Regions from separate parts of the Homo sapiens genome. Here region 1 is linked to region 2. The links are contacts of gene promoters, found by promoter capture Hi-C in blood cells and fetal thymus (Javierre and others, 2016). All regions are on one chromosome and are shown on one strand. Each heading gives the region's core, a stretch centred on a gene start or on the middle of the fragment in contact. The rest is flanking DNA. Distances are from core to core; before and after follow the strand shown.

Region 1 (4,855 bases), core at 1,429-3,928, 290 kb before region 2:
TTTTAATGCCCTTCTCTTCAGCGGGCTTCTGCTCTGCGTCTCCATCAGCTGGGGGGTGTTCAGGGCATTTGTTTTAAATGATATGGATGTGTAAAGCTTCAAGTGTTCAATAAATGTTGTCTTTTTTTTTTTTTGAGACAGGGTCTCACTCTTGTCACCTAGGCTGGAGTGCAGTAGTGCAGTCACAGCTCACTGCAGCCTCGACCTCCCAGGCTCAGGCGATCCTTCCACCTCAGCCTCCCTAGTAGCTGTGACTATAGGCATGTGCCATCATGCCTAGCTAATTTTTGCATTTTTTTGGGGTAGAGACAGGGTTTCACCATGTTGCCAGGCTGGTCTCAAACTCCTAGACTCAAGCAATCCACCTGCTGTGGCCTCCCAAAGTGTTGGGATTACAGGTGTGAGCCACTGTGCCTGGCCTTGGCTGATATTAATCTTATGTTTAGATAAACTGACAGCTAAGAAAACACCCCACCAGATCAATGATTCCAAGAATTTTGGATTTCACAGCTCAGTAAAAATTCTGTTTTAAAATGAAAGGAAGACCGGTAGAGTATTGCCAAATGTTACTGTATCAAGCAAAGACATTAAAAACCACTCCCTCCCACCCTAAAAGAAAGGATATTTGAATATCAGCAAAGCAAGAGGGCCAATGACAGCATCGGCACGGGTCTTTCATAATACACACAGCTAAAATTAAAAAGCTCATGGCACTATATCTATTTTGAAGGAATGGAAAAAAATTCTGTCACAAACATAAACCAGCACTGGTCTAAAACTGAGTTTTAGAAAGCATGTCCAAACTACCACACACACAGCTCTGGTAATCAAAAAGAAATCAGGATCTTCTCCTACCCAGCCCCTGCTGGCCCCACCAGCCCCCCAGCCCTGGGGGAGCCATGATTAACACAGCCCCAGACTTTGGGCCAGGCCCAGGCAGGGAGGAGACTCATCTGATTAACTGGCCATCAGCAGCAGACAGACAGCCCGGAGCCCGGCGCAGACCATTCAAATAATGATCATCATAAACAGCCCATTTGCAACTAAAAAGAAATAATTTTAATGAGCCTGAAGCAGATGATAGATGCAGCTGAGGCTCGGGCCAATGTGCAGAGAGAAAGGAGGCCGGGGCTGAGCTGCACCCGGGACCGGGTGCTGCAGGAGAAGCCGGGGGCTTGGAGGAAGGGGCTCTTCTGATGGGATCTGCAGTACCCCCTGGAAGTGCCCACTGCCTAGTGAGAGCCCCTGTCTCTGAGAGGGTTTGCCATTGGTGTGCTGAACAGTCTTGGGACTTAGTCCTCCAAGGCACTCAGAACATATGAGCTAGAAGGAATCCTCAAGGTCGCTCAGGTCACTGCTGTCCAAACTTTGACCACTCATGTCCCTCTGTGTGAATTTTGTCATATTGATATAGCATCTAAAATATGATTAATTAATATTTCTCTTCAAAGGGACTCCTATGGTTCTCTTTTTGAGATATGGATCACTTTAAGTTCCATAGTTCAATGTTAAGCTTAGTGAATTACAAAATTTTTTTTTAGATAGGGTCTTGCTCTGTCACCCAGGCTGGACTGCAATGGCATGATCACAGCTCACCGCAGCCTTCACTTCCCAGGCTCAGGTGACCCTCCCACAGCCTCCTGGGTAGCTGGGACTACAGGCATGTGCTACCACGCCAGGCTAGTTTTTATTTTTTGTAGAGATGGGGGTCTCGCCATGTTGCCCAGGTTGGTCTCGAACTCCTAGGCTCAAGTGAAAGCTTAGTGAATGGTTTACACCTGAGTAAGCACTACCCAGTTCAAGATGTAGAACGTTCACGTTCCTAGTGCCTGTGAAAACTCCCTAGAGTACTCTCTCCTTGTCAGTACCCCCTAAAAGTAACGATGATTTGGACCCTGGCATCACAGACACATTTTTCCTATTCCTGACTTTTACCTAATGACTCCTTCCCTTTTTTTAAACCTAAATAAGTGTATTTAAAAAGGACACTTTCTTGTCACTAGAGAATCATGTACCATAAACAGATGGTAGCCATTAAAACAAAAGTATAACCAAAAACAAATCATTGCTGCCTGTGTTTGTTATAAAAGGTTAGCAAGTGCTGGAGGGGTGTTAATGCAGTCCCCTACAGAGACTTTCTGCTTGTTGGAATGAAGAAGGGTGGAAGAGATAAGGCAGAACTGTTCCTCAGAACCCAAGTCAATCCCTTCTAACACTGGCTCTACTGAATGCTTACAATTTCATGTCCCGTCAGTGGGTATGTGTCCCACACTTCAGTAAATATGAATCATATCTGAGTCTCCCATTTAAAGATGAGAAAACGGAGGCACAGATACTTTTGGTTACCCACCCACATCACACATAGTTAAGAGGTTGGATTTTCTCAGAGGGGAGGGTGGGTCTTGGCTAGGGAAGGATCCTATGGTTGGTTATCTATGGGGAAGCAAGTCTAGCATTCTCAATTCGTCTGGGTTTCCCCAACCAGGAGGGACTGGGAATTTTACAAGAACACTTAGTTTTTAAAGTAATTTCACACCTGATCCCAAAGTGTCAGCTATATGAAGAGCCTTGGGCTAGAATCTGTGTTCTTATGAGGGGAACACATGTTAAGACACAACCTGAGATCCCGCCTATCTGTGCCCACAATCTTCTCAGCTCCAAGGACACCTCACACTCAGACATATCCCCCTAAGGCCACCTCCGAGAAGAAACCTAAAAAGTGATTGTTGGGAGCTGGGTTTAAGGAATTGAGGACCTCAGTTGTTCCTAGGCTTTAAAGAGATTCCATGAAGACAAACAATCTCTTTCTCAGTATGTCCCTCCTGGTTTAAAACCTGGCCTAGGACAATCTCCTCACTCCTGGGTGTCCCTGGGTCCCTCCCACTTCCCCTTCTCCTTGTTTCCTTCCCAGCTGGACCAAATTCCGTGCAGAAACCGAAATGCACCAGAACCTTCTGACTCCGTGGTTCCACAGTCTCCTTTCCCTCAGCTCAGATGAACTCATTCTGTCTTTGTGGTTGATCTTACTCATCTCTTTGTGTGTCAGCTTAAATGTCTCCTCTTCCAGAAAGGCTTCCCAGACACCCCTCCAAGTTAGGTGTCTGCTTTGAGCCCCTGTTAACTCTTTCTGATATTTGCTACCAGATTTTTTTTAAGCCCTAGAACATTTACACAGAAGTTCCTTATAGGAAACAATAGCTCATAGTTAACATTTATTGAGAGTCTATTACACCATATATACTAATATTTATTGAGTGCACTAAGCACTTTATGTACAGTATCTCTTGTAAGGATATGTATGTGAAGTGATGGTCGAGATTCCAGGCCAGGTTTCAGAAACAAAGATGAGCAGTGATTATGACTTCCAGTACAGTCACCAACCCCCCAAATCCAAACAGGGGCTCTGCTTTCACCTTACTACAGGGGGATGCAACCGAAGATGTTGGACCTCATCTGTCCACCCACTCATCTACCCATCCACTCGTCCATCAATGCATTCATGGTCTCTGATGTGCTAGGCATTTCATAAGGAGGATGGAAATGATAAGCCCGATATAGCCTGGATCCTCCAAGAGCTCAGAAACCAGACAAGCTTGGGTATAAGTAATTTTAGTGAAAGGTGACAAAGGCCATCATGCAGAGACATTATCTTTAGTGCAGGCTTGGAGAAGAGTGAAACCCTAACATGTCTTTTGTATTGCCTTTGGGTGGGTATGGAAACTGATCAGGCAAAGGAGAGGTAGAGCTTCAATCTACCTCTTCTAATTAAATCATAGTGTGGTCCCAAGTTGGGCAGGGGCTGCCAGTAACCACTGAAGTGCTAACCAGGCTGGAAGCCCTTTATCCAACATCCGTCCAACTACCCAACCACCATCCATTTATCCATTCATCTAATCATACATCTATCTACCCAACTAATCATCCATTTATCCATTCATCCAGACATACATCCACCCATCCAACCACCATCCATTTATGCATTCATCCAATCATACATCTATCTACCAAACCATCCATTTTCATCCAGTTATACATCTACCCATCCAACCAACCATGCCTTTATCTATTCATCCAATTATATGTCTACCCACCTAACCAACCATCTATTTATCCAACAGTTGATCATCTAGAAAAGGATCATCCATTCATCTATTCACCCAACTGATCTTGTCCAGCATCCAGGTACCCAATCACTCAAGCAGTCATCCATCCTTGGGTGGATAGGTGGGTTAGTTATCTAACCCCATCCAATCAACCATCCAACTAATCACTGGCCCAATTCTGTGTCAGGCACAGTGCTAGGTACTGGTGTACAGAAACCAACCAACACAGTCTCTGTCCTTGAGGAGTTCACAGTACAGTGTGGTAGACAAGGAGAGCCATTCTAACACTATGTGCCGACATACACTATGAGAAGTATAAAAACAGTATGACAGGAACACAGAGAGCAAGGTTACTTACTGTGATTGGGAAAAAGAGTTGCCAAGATAGGACCATCTGACCTGTGTCTGGAAGGATGAAGAATCTGTCAGATAAAGAAGCCAAGCAACCCAGGCAGAGGAAATGGGAATGTTGCAAAAGCCCTTAACTTTTTTTTTCTTAGACAGGGTTTTGCTTTGTAGTCCAGCCTGGCGTGCAGTGGCACAATCCTGGCTCACTGCAGCTTCAACCTCCCATGCCCAAGCAATGCTCCCTTCTCAGCCTCCCAAGTAGCTGGGACCATGGGTGCAAACCACCACACCCAGCTAATTTATTTTTTGTAAAGACAGGGCCTTGCTATGTTGCTCAGGCTGGCCTCAAACTCCTGGGCTCAAGCAATCCTTCTGCCTTGGCCTCCCAAAGTGCTTAGATTACA
Region 2 (5,053 bases), core at 2,554-5,053:
ATACACTTGGGTTTCTGATATTCTAGAAGTTGCTATTCTGATGGATCGGCCCACTGTGCTTCTCTCTGGCTTCTGACAGCCTCAAGTGAGCAGTTATTTTTCTCTTCTATTCAGTGGGACTCAGGTCTAGCTGCTGGAAACTTATTAGCTGTAGGAATCCCACAGGTAGCAAAAAGGCAGGGGTCTCAGGTCCTGTGGGCATGTGCTTCTCAGCAAGAGGCCTCCGCCACCCAGCCTTGAGGGCAGGGCACAACAGCCCCAGCCGCCCACTCGCTCCCTCCCCAGCCCCCGCAGTCTTGAGGCTGATGCTGAAAGGAACCCCTGAAGTCTACAAAGAACCAAGTCCTCCCTGGATTCTCCAATCCCAGGGCCTTGTCCCTGGTCTTGGGGGCTCCCTGGGGCAACACAACCCATTGATGAGAGAGACTTTGGATCTCTGGCTCTCTCAACAGACCCCAAGGCCTAGTCCACACCCCACGTGCTCCACGTCCCAGCAGCCACGTGGTTCCATGCCCCATTCAGGCCGCCATTTCCCAGAATCCCTAGACACAATCTCACTTAATCCTCCCAGCAGCCTTATGGAGGTGTGTGATCTCCCTTTTCCAGGTGAGGAAACAGGCCCGAGAGGGTGAGTGCCCTATTTGACAACCCCTCTTGCTATCCAGCCAGAATGGTTCCTCTAGTACCCCTTCTGGAGGCCTGGCTGTACAGGTGTCCCTCAGGGACACACACCCCCACTCGACTCTGGGGGCCCAGCCCATCCTAATCCCCACCCCGGGGCTTCCCACCCCCCATCATACACTCTCCACATCTTCTGTGGCTGCAACAACCTTTTCACTTGGCCAGTTGGAGCTACTGACTGCTCACACAGGGTTTTAACGAAAATCTATGGTGTGCCTATTAGCTAGGGAAACATTTATTCTGGTGTTGTCAGAGAACCTTGGACAGAAAAGCTCCTCTTGATGTGTGCACTGCACATATGTGGATGCGTGTACATGCACGTGTCTGTGTGCCTCTATGCATGTGCAGACGTGTTTTTGTCTGTGCATGCATGTGCCTACACACACACATGAACACATCTTTTGTTATTAAAGATCTGTCAGAAGAGTGTCCTGGGTAACTCTAACCCATGTGGGACTGCAGAGAAGAAAAAAACCCACACCTTTTTTTGTCACAGCCATCAATGGTCCTTGGGTTTGTGTGCCCCCAAATTGAGATTATTTTTCCACCTGAGAAGGGGAGTGAGTGATAGCTACCATTTGCCAGGTCTCACCTCCTTTTACCCTCTGGAAAACCTAATAAGAAAAGTGATTTCTTTTTTTAAGCTCTGGAAAACTCCAGCCCCAGGGGGCCTTCTGTTCCTCAAAGCCTCCAAATTCTCCCTGCCTTGAGGTATGTGCTGTCCCCACTGCCTGGAGCCCCCTTTGCAGACTCTGCTTGGAGGAGCCCACCTGCGCCCCTGTCTGAGGCTGTCACCTGGCCACTGCCATGCCTCTGTCTCATCCCTGCATGAGATCCGTCACTGCCTGCAACTGTCTGGGTTGTGCATTTGTTTACTTTCTCCTTGTCCATCTTCCCCTCGCACTTACGCACCTCAAGGGAAGGGAATTTGTTGCTTTGCGCTGGGCTCGATGAAGGGGAATGAATGCTGGTTCAGCCATCAGCCCCGCACCCACACTACTGGGAGGGCAGAGGGACATTCTCCTTCTTAGAGGTGTGGCCTCTGGCACTCAGGCCTGCCACCCACGGACACTAAATAACCACAATGATTCCAAGCCCCGAGTTCTTGCTCCCTGAATCCCAAGGCTGTCTTTAAGGGCACAGGAAGATGGCCATCTTTTGTTGTTTTGGTTTAGTTTGGGGTTTTTTTGGTCTTTGTTTTTGAGATGGAGTCTTGCTCTGTCGCCCAGGCTGGAGTGCAATGGCACGATCTCGGCTCACTGCAACCTCCGCCTCCTGGGTTCAAGCAATCCTCCTGCCTTAGCCTCCCAAGTAGCTGGGAGTACAGGCATGTGCCACAACGCCCAGCTAATTTTTGTATTTTTAGTAGAGATGGGGTTCTGTCATGTTGGCCAGACTGGTCTTGAACTCCTGACCTCAGGTGATCTACCCGCCTCGGCCTCCCAAAGTGCTAGGTGTGAGCCAACATGCCCGTCCTTTTTTTTTTTTTTTTTTTTTTTGAGTCAGAGTCTCACTCTGTCGCCCAGGCTGGAGTGCAATGGCGCTATCTCGGCTCACTGCAACCTCTGCCTCTCGGCCTCAAGCGATTCTCCTGCCTCAGTCTCCTGAGTAGCTGGGACTACAGGCCCGCGCCACAACGCCTGGCTAATTTTTGTATTTTTAGTAGCGACAAGTTTCATCATGTTGGCCAAGGTCGTCTTGAACTCCTGACTCAAGTGATCCACCCGCCTCAGCCTCTCAAAGTGCTGGCATTTCAGGTATAAGCCACTGCACCCAGCAGGAAAGCTGTCTTCAGTAAAAGTATTATATAATGACACCTTGCATTCTGAGAGCAGCTGCTGTTTTCAAGGCTCTTAAAGAGCCTGGACTCTGGAGACAAAGGGGCCTCCAGAGGGGTCCACGCCTAGCTCCATCACTGTGTGACCCTGGGCAGCTCACTTCGCCTCTCTGAGCTTTTGTTTCCGCATCTGTAAAATGGGGGCATGGATGATGAGGTGGTCCCCACCCTCTAGGGTGGCTGGAAAATTATGTGTGGGAGCCATGAGCACATAGTGTCCGGCACGTGCCAGTGCTCAGTCAATGAGATTTGTCATTTCTTCAGTCAACAAATATTTATTTTTGAGCTGCTGCTGTGTGCATCATGAGCTGGGAGCTGGGGAGACAGTCAGTGGTGAGGGAAACTAAAGTGATCCCTGCCCTCTGAGCTGACGCTCCACAGATGCTGAAGAAAATGAGTCAGTGCACTGTGGGCAGTGTTCGGGACTGCCTCACGCTGTGCAGAGAAACAAAGAAGGGAGATCGGAGCGCAGGAGGTGCGTGGCTGTGTTATTTGTTTGTTTTGAGACAGGGTCTTGCTCTGTCACCCAGGCTGGAGTGCAGTGGTGTGATCGTGGCTCACCACAGCCTCAACCTCCCGGGCCCAAGTGATCCTCCTGTCCCAGCCTCCTGAATAGCTGAGACTATAGGCATGCACCACCACGCACAGCTATTTTTTTTTCTTTTGCGTAGAGACAGGCATCTCCCTATGTCACCCAGGCTGGTCGCAAACTCCTAGGCTCAAGCAATCTTCCCGCCTCGGCCTCCCGCCGTGCTGGGATTTCAGGCATGAGCCACAGTGCCAGCCTTCATGGTTATTTTAAAGATGGTGGTCGGGGAGGCTTCACTCAGGAGATGACATATGAGCAAAGATGCAGTGAAGGAGGTGAAGGAAGGAGCCGTGCGATGACTGACAGAAAGACATTCCAGGTAGAGGGCACACAGGTGCAAAGACCCTGAGGCCAGATCCAGGCTGATAAAACAGAGCATTTTAGCAGTCTCCTCTCCCTGCCATTTTTTTTCTCAAAATTGACAAGCACAAGTGTCCCCGGCCCAAGCACCGCAGAGAGCGCGCAGCATCTCTCCCCGTGACCATGACCCAGCTACTGCCTCTTTAACCTTGAATGCCTTTTTGGGGGCTCACGTGTCACCCAGTGGCGAGTGAGCCACCCTTACTTCAGAAGAACGGCATGGGGTGGGGGGGCCTTAGGTGGTGCCCGCCTCACCTATGACTGCCAAAAGCGGTCATGGGGTTATTTTTAAACATGGGGAGGAAGTATTTATTGTTCCTGGGCTGCAGAGAGCTGGGCGGAGTGTGGAATTCTTCTCGGGAGGCAGTGCTGGGTCCTTTCCACCATGGTGAGTACAAGGGCTCCAGGAGGTGATGATGCCGGGTGGGCGAGGAGAGGAAGCCACTACAAGCGAGGGACCACGGCGGAGGGGGAGGAAGGCGGCCCTCAAAGCCTCCAGCCCCTTGTGGAAAAAGCCCCATTGACTGCGCGGGCACAGAGGAACCCCAATCAATGCCCCGATAGGCCACAAATAACAGCAGCTCTCGGGGACTCACAAACACAAAATAAGAGAGTTGGCTTTTTTATGGCTTGTCTACTGACCTCTCGAGGAATCAATAACTCCCAGGACTTGCAAAATGGGATTGAATGCTTTTAAGGATCAAATTGTAATTCTTTTCTCTTGTTCAGGCAGCTGGGAAAAAGAATGTTTTTGTTTTCACCTTTTGAACTTGCAAATTTAAAACCTTTCTTTCTGTGCTGTTGGGTTAGGTGTCCCCCTCCTGAAGTGGGCAGTCCCCAAATCAGGGTCAGCACAGGAGGGAGAGTGGTTAGAGGCAGGAACTCTGGAGTCAGAATGCCCAAGTTCAACTCCCCAAGTTCAACGCCCAAGTTCAACTCCGGCTCTGCCTTCTGTGTGTGTGGCTGTGTGATCTTGGGCAAGTGACCCAACCTCTCTGAGCCTCAGTTGCCTCTCCTGTAAAATGGGGATGATAATAATAGTATCCACTTGACAGAGTGGTTATGAGAATTAAATAATACATATGTAGAGTACCGAATCATTTGCTGTTATTGAAAGTCAGAGAGAAGTGGGGTGGGGAAGAAAGGTCAACTCGCTCTTCTCTGCCCTATTGATGTGGTGCAAGGACGGAGCATTCAGAGAGGAGGTTTTGCTGCCATTTGGAGCAAGGGAAAATTGTGGGGTGTGGGGCGCAGTTGGGTTTTAACACCTTGAAGAACTGTCATTTCATCTTGGCATTCATCATGGCTTAGTGAGCCTGACTTTTTCTTTCCCTCCAATCAATTCTCCTTCTGTGCATTACTGAGCTTTTTGTGAAATGCATCAGAACAAAAGTGGCTGGATCCTGCAGGGGCGATCTGAAGGTGTGGCCTCCATCCCCAGGGACACACCTGTGGCTTCTCCTAGTTGGTGAAGGAGCCACTGCAAGATGCACAAACGCTTATGATCCACTGGTACCAGAGGGCTCTGGAGAAACTTCATGTCATGTCCTTTGCTCCCTCCAGCATCACCGTTTGGAGACCTGAGT

Evidence for each region. The method cuts DNA at HindIII sites, captures the fragments that hold promoters and counts their contacts. A CHiCAGO score of 5 or more calls a contact.
Region 1: a fragment that was not itself captured here is called in contact with the fragment with the promoter of MYL2 in region 2 in 1 of 17 cell types (megakaryocytes); the score reaches 5.2 in megakaryocytes.

What each region holds. Positions count from the first base shown.
Region 1 is chr12:111,206,077-111,210,931 of GRCh38, reverse strand. The region is part of intron 1 of CUX2 (cut like homeobox 2); the gene reads right to left. Among named protein-coding and RNA genes, the nearest start is that of MIR6760, 96 kb to the left of the region's middle. The HindIII fragment of the contact is 1,833 bases long and covers 1,762-3,594 here.
Region 2 is chr12:110,919,329-110,924,381 of GRCh38, reverse strand. It overlaps MYL2 (myosin light chain 2), which reads left to right and starts at 3,803. Exons shown (of 7, transcript NM_000432.4): 1 at 3,803-3,855. The coding sequence starts at 3,853. RefSeq lists an enhancer at 2,995-5,053. The HindIII fragment of the contact is 13,220 bases long and covers 1-5,053 here.